Regions from separate parts of the Homo sapiens genome. Here region 1 is linked to region 2. The links are contacts of gene promoters, found by promoter capture Hi-C in blood cells and fetal thymus (Javierre and others, 2016). All regions are on one chromosome and are shown on one strand. Each heading gives the region's core, a stretch centred on a gene start or on the middle of the fragment in contact. The rest is flanking DNA. Distances are from core to core; before and after follow the strand shown.

Region 1 (2,700 bases), core at 65-2,564, 71 kb before region 2:
CTGTCAGCCATTGAAGTGCATGCGTTCCTGTCCTGAGGCCTCTTGCATTTCATTTAGTAACTGTTTCTACATTCAGAAACAAAACCCAAGTATAGCTGAACAACCTGGTTGGAAGTGAGGAAGAAGACAGCCTGGCTTTTAGTTTGGGGGAGAGAATAGGGGTACTTCTAAGAATCTATCCAAAAGGGGTTCATTGGCCTTGAAGAAAACCAGAGAACTCCATTTCTAAAATGGATTAAGAGATAGGCTATGGAGGAAGATAACATCTGAAAATTGATATTTTTTTCTTGCTGAACTGGCAAAATCCCAAGAGAGGAGTGATGATTCTTCAGTTATTAACAATTACTACTTTGTTATAAAGAGACACGGGAAGTACAGTGGCCCCTTTCTCAAATTACACTTACATTACAGAAGCACACACACCTCTTGGAAAAAAATGCCTGGCAGCCTGGATTGTTAGAATTGTGCCTACTCCTACATCTTGCTGCAGAGTTGTGTGGTCCTGTGTAATATCCATGCACTTTGGACAGAAGACGATCTAGTCTATTCTTGCAGTCCTGAACTGGGCAAGTAACCAGCATAAGGCTGCCCTTCTTTCTGTCTTTATATATATCACTCCAGGTTATCGATCTGTTCACTGTGGTTATCCATCCTGTGAACCCACACATCTTATAGCCACATACCTTTGCTTTATTGTCCTCATATCCTCAGGGCATAATTGCTCCTGAAAGTTCTAAAGAAAGAAAATGACATGCTAAGCCACGCCTGTCTTTGGAAAAAGCAAGCTTTCCACACGGAAATATTTACACCTCTGCTTACCTGATCTGTAGAGTTTGAACCAGGTCCCAAAAAGTGTAGGTAGATAATAGCAGGGCTTGGAGAATGATGACTTGAAGTGTATTGCCCTGTTGGCATGATTTGTATTGATTTTTATCCTGTATTCTTTCAAATTGTGATTATAAAGAAAAAGACTCAGATTCTCTTAAGTCCTCAAAATGAAGAGCATTACTAAAACTAAAACAGTAGTCTCTTATACTTCTTTGTTCTCGTCTTTTGAACATGCAGGTATTTCCAGTTTGCACCATAGATGTCAAGGGGCTCCCTTCTCTTAAAACTTGAATGCAGGGTTTTTTTGTTGTTGGGGGGTGGGTGGTTGGTTGCTTTTGTTTTTGTTTTTGTTTTTTTGAGTCAGAGTCTCGCTCTGTCACCCAGCCAGACTGGAGTGCAGCGGCATGATCTCAGCTCACTGCAACTTCCGCCTCCCAGGTCCAAACAACTCTCGAGCCTTCGCCTCCCGAGTAGCTGGGATTACCGGCATGCGCCACCATGCATGGCTAATTTTTTTTTTTAATTTTTAGTAGAGACAGTGTTTCACCATGTTGGCCCGGCTGGCCTCGAACTCCTGACCTCAAGCGATTTGCCCACCTTGGCCTCCCAAAGTGCTAGGATTACAGGCATGAGCCACCGCGCCCAGTCTGGTTATGCAGTTAGTTGATACCAGAGAGGAGTAGCTTGAATGTGTGGACTTGCCTTCGCTATAATAAAACATAGCCTCTATCCCCATTATAAAATGGGGAAAGAAGTTAGAAAACCAACCTGATTTTAAGATGATGAGGTGAAGAAAAAGCAGCTGCTTAGAAGTTGCTGTATGTATCATTTAGTTGTTTGGTGTTGGTTAGAAGAATCACTCTTATTTTAATATCTAATGAACTGAAAAGTGAGAGTGAGGTATTTTCCTTCCCTTTTTATTTATTTGTAATTTGATTCCCAGGGAAATTAAGACTTGTGACAAGCCCAAATGAAGATATTTTGGAATTTGACAGGAGAGTTTTTTAACTTATGCCTAAGCTTCAAATTATATTAGGCAATAAATTATTGATAGTTTTTAATCAGATACTGGAATATGGAATTTTCAAAATCACAACTCAGAAAAATGACCGCTCACAGGCCTTCTGTTTTATATTTATTCTTCCTTTTTAGTATTCTCCAAAATTAATCATCATCGTACATGTGTACATTTATTCTTATTATTACCACAAGAGCCTTCTGATGATCGAGAGGAGAGAGACCCTCAGTTCACCTCTGGAAGGGAAGTTGTTGTACATGAGCACAGGGAGGAATCAGTCTCAAGAGCCAGACCTCCTGAAAACCTGCAGCGTTGCTGAGAGAATCAGCAGCTTTACTGGCTGAACAGCAGCTCGGGTTAGCCCATCCCGTGGCCAGGTCATTTGCTGGCTCCTCCGCAGCCAGCTTCCATTGTTGTCTAGGCTGACAGCTCCGCCCTACTCATGACGTGACTCTCTCTATGGGATTGTTTCTCTCCTTTTTTTTTTTTACATTCAGTTTTCAGAAGACAGAATGGAATACTTCTCATTCATTCCTCCAGCAAAGTGCCCCTGGTGGGCAGAGCTCTCTCTCCCAGGCCTTAACTGGCCTAAATAAAGTGGGTGGCAGCTGCCTTCCAGACAGATGCCAGCCTGGTACTAGGGTAGTATGATTGTGTGATACAAAGCTGCCAATGTATGCATGTCTGACCATTTTTTCAGATGGGATTGTAGCTAGGCAGGTACAGCATAGCCTTTTCATGTCCAGCATAGGGTCTTAAAATATAAAACCACATGCAATAAAATAACAAGGTATAAAGGGAAAGTCAGGGCCAAAAAACAAGATAATTCCAAGTTTTCAAATATCAGCCTAAAT
Region 2 (2,781 bases), core at 1-2,500:
TTGCTCAAGATCTGTCCCCTAATGGCTTCCACCCTCTTCTTCTTGATGTGGCCGAAGTCCAAGGTGGTGCAAGTGGACAGAGAGAGGCTGACCGTGGCAAAGTTCAGCAGGGCCAGGACCACCAGAGCCCTTTGCAAGTGCATCTTCATGTGTGAGCTGGGAAGAGAGGCCAGGGGGACGGCAAGGCCTGGAGAGGAAGAGACCCCAGCAGACGTGCAGAAGGAGGGAGGAAAACCAGGCGGCCTCCCCAGATCCCAAAGACTGAGGCTTGGCAAGAAGGTGCATGAACTCACTGCACTGCGAGAGCTTCAGGACTTCCAGGAAGCGCTGGCAACCCTGAGGACGAAGAAGCGGACTGTGTGCCTTGTAGCGCTGGGATTCTTGTCCATGTGTCTAAACAGGTTTTGCTGGGCTCTGACTCCCAGCAGGCCAGGTGGAGGGCAAGCAGAGGGCTGGGAGGGGTGGCAAGGCAGCTGGGAGTGGGAAGGGAGCTGGAGTTTTTCCTTAGGTAAAAATAAATAGAGTGGATATCTGATATTGCCAAACGCCGCTTGGCGATGGGGAGAAAGTGGGTATTTTAAAGAAGAAGCAGAAGGACCATGGCTGGGTCCCAAAATCAAAATCCTTGCCTTGCCTTGAAAGAAAATAAGAAAAGAGAATGGAAAAGAAAAGGGAAAAAAAAGTAAAAAAAAAAAGATCACCAGTGAGTAGGTGGGGAGAAGCAGGGCCGGGCAGTTGCTGGCCCAGCTAAAGGTGGGGGCAGTACAGGACACACTTGTCTCTCAGGCACTCCATTCATGCTTTCTCTTTTGTTTACACTTCCTCGGGGGCTTTCTAAATGACTTTGTTCACGCTGCCTCTCGTCTTCATTGGCTGGGGTGTGGGGTTATATGCATTGGAAGGCAGGGAGGCAGGCCTCTGAGCGCAGCAGCCCCAATCATCCACTCAGACGCCCAGGGTCACCAGCACCTCGGCTTGTCTTCTGCCTCGGCCATTGCTTCTGTCCCCTGCTTCTCTTTAAAAAATAAAAAGGAGAAAAAAATAAAATAAAATAGAAGCCAGTTCACGGCACGCCTGCTCCGGAAAGCTGTTATTCCTTCTCTCGCACGCCTCTTCCCCTGTCTCTGCCTCTCTCGCTCATTCCCTTGGACTTGACTCTCTGCTTCCCTCCCTTTCTCTCTCTCCCTCTCCCTCTCCCTCTCGCTCCTCTCCCTCTCTCTCTCACACACACACACATGCACACACACTGCTTTCTCTATTTCTCTCTGCTGAAATTTTATACCTCCCTCCCATGACGTCTCTGGCCTGGGGTGGGGGAGGGAGGGACCAGCGCACGCAGCCTCTTTTGCTGCACGATGTTAATGTTTTAAACAGGCACAGGAAAAGCCGAGCCCTTTTGAAAAATACTTTGCGAGTCCTCTCGTTCGACGTGGTAGCTGAACTTTTTTTCCCCTCTTGGAATCACTCCTGCCACACGTTGGCTGTTTTTCTGGAAAGTTACTCCGATGAGCCCCCTCCCTCCCTTTCCCCCAGCCCCGGCGCCCTCTCGCCAGCTGTCAGTCCGCGCCGTCCGCGGCCCGCGTCTACTCTCCCTCCTGGTCCCCCGGTCCCGGGGCCGCCCGCGGGCCAGGCCCAACCCGGGGCAGGGTCCGCAGAGGGCGCGGGACCCGGTAGGGGCGGCCATGCCAGCCTCGCAGAGGGGACTCCCAGCCTGCGAGCCGGGTCGGAGGGTCGGCGTCCGCTCCGCGGCGATCCTGGCCCGATTCTTCATTGACAAGATCGGAGTCGGGAGGCGGGCAGAAGCCTGGAGACGCTCCAGGGGCAGTGAAAAATGGTGGCGTTTTCCGGAAGATCGAGGGTGCCCTCTGGCGAGGCGAGGCCGCCAGTGAAGGAGCTCGGCTGGTCGGGAGCCGGGGAGGCTCGGGGGCTGGGGGCTGCGGGGTGGGGGCTGAGGGGCGGGAGAAGGGGCTGCGGTAGAGAGCGAGAAAAACAAGACCCAGGCCCCGAGGAATCGCCTCCCTCCCGGCCCGACGTGCGCACGAGCGCACCTCTCCCTCCCCGACCGCCGCTCCGGAGCCGCTCTCGCAGAAATGTCATCCAGATGTTCAGCCTCCCTCCCCGCCGAGGTCTCCGCAGGGAGCTGCGCCAGCGAGCGCGAAGTCAGCAGTTGGCCCGAGCCCATTTCCCAGATGGGTGAGGGGAAGTCGGCTCTGTGCTTTCGCTCCTCTTCTCGGCCCGAACCTCTAGGCCTTTTCCCACGAGCAGCCAAGGGAGGGTAGGGCACGTGGCTCCCCGCACCCCGCAACACAGGGCTTGCCTCTGAACTGAACTTTCCTGAGAGTGAGTGCCGCTCCCACCCCATCTCACTCCAGCCTTCCTGGACCCTTTCTGAGAGGTCTGGCTTCCAGGCCACTAACTGAAGGGGCTGTTCTCTGTATCCCAGCACAGCGGTGGGTCACTTTACGGATGAGGAAACTGAGGCATAGAGTTTTTTGTTTTTTTTTTTACAGACCACACTGCTTGTGAGTGATGGAGGCGATATTTTACACAGGCTATCTAGCTTGGGTAGGCATTACTTTCATTTGCAAAACCAATGGGAAACCTAGGGGTAGAAACTTTAAAAGTAACTTGCCCAAGGTCACATAGTTATTAGGTGTCAGCTGTTGGGATTTGGACCCAGGACGTTGCCAGATTCTGGACTTAATTACTATGCTATACTGCCTCTGAAATTTCAGAAAAAGTTTAATGTTTACTATATACCAGGCACTATTCTAGGCTCTG

The links. The method cuts DNA at HindIII sites, captures the fragments that hold promoters and counts their contacts. A CHiCAGO score of 5 or more calls a contact.
Region 1: a contact is called between a fragment that was not itself captured here and the fragment with the promoter of TGFB3 in region 2, in 2 of 17 cell types (naive B cells and total B cells). The highest score is 8.2, in naive B cells.

What each region holds. Positions count from the first base shown.
Region 1 is chr14:75,909,857-75,912,556 of GRCh38, forward strand. The region is part of intron 31 of TTLL5 (tubulin tyrosine ligase like 5); the gene reads left to right. Among named protein-coding and RNA genes, the nearest start is that of TGFB3, 71 kb to the right of the region's middle. The HindIII fragment of the contact is 1,063 bases long and covers 784-1,846 here.
Region 2 is chr14:75,980,745-75,983,525 of GRCh38, forward strand. It overlaps TGFB3 (transforming growth factor beta 3), which reads right to left and starts at 1,251. Exons shown (of 7, transcript NM_003239.5): 1 at 1-1,251. The coding sequence starts at 149. RefSeq lists silencers at 1,556-1,795, 1,926-2,045 and an enhancer at 1,826-1,885. The HindIII fragment of the contact is 14,571 bases long and covers 1-2,781 here.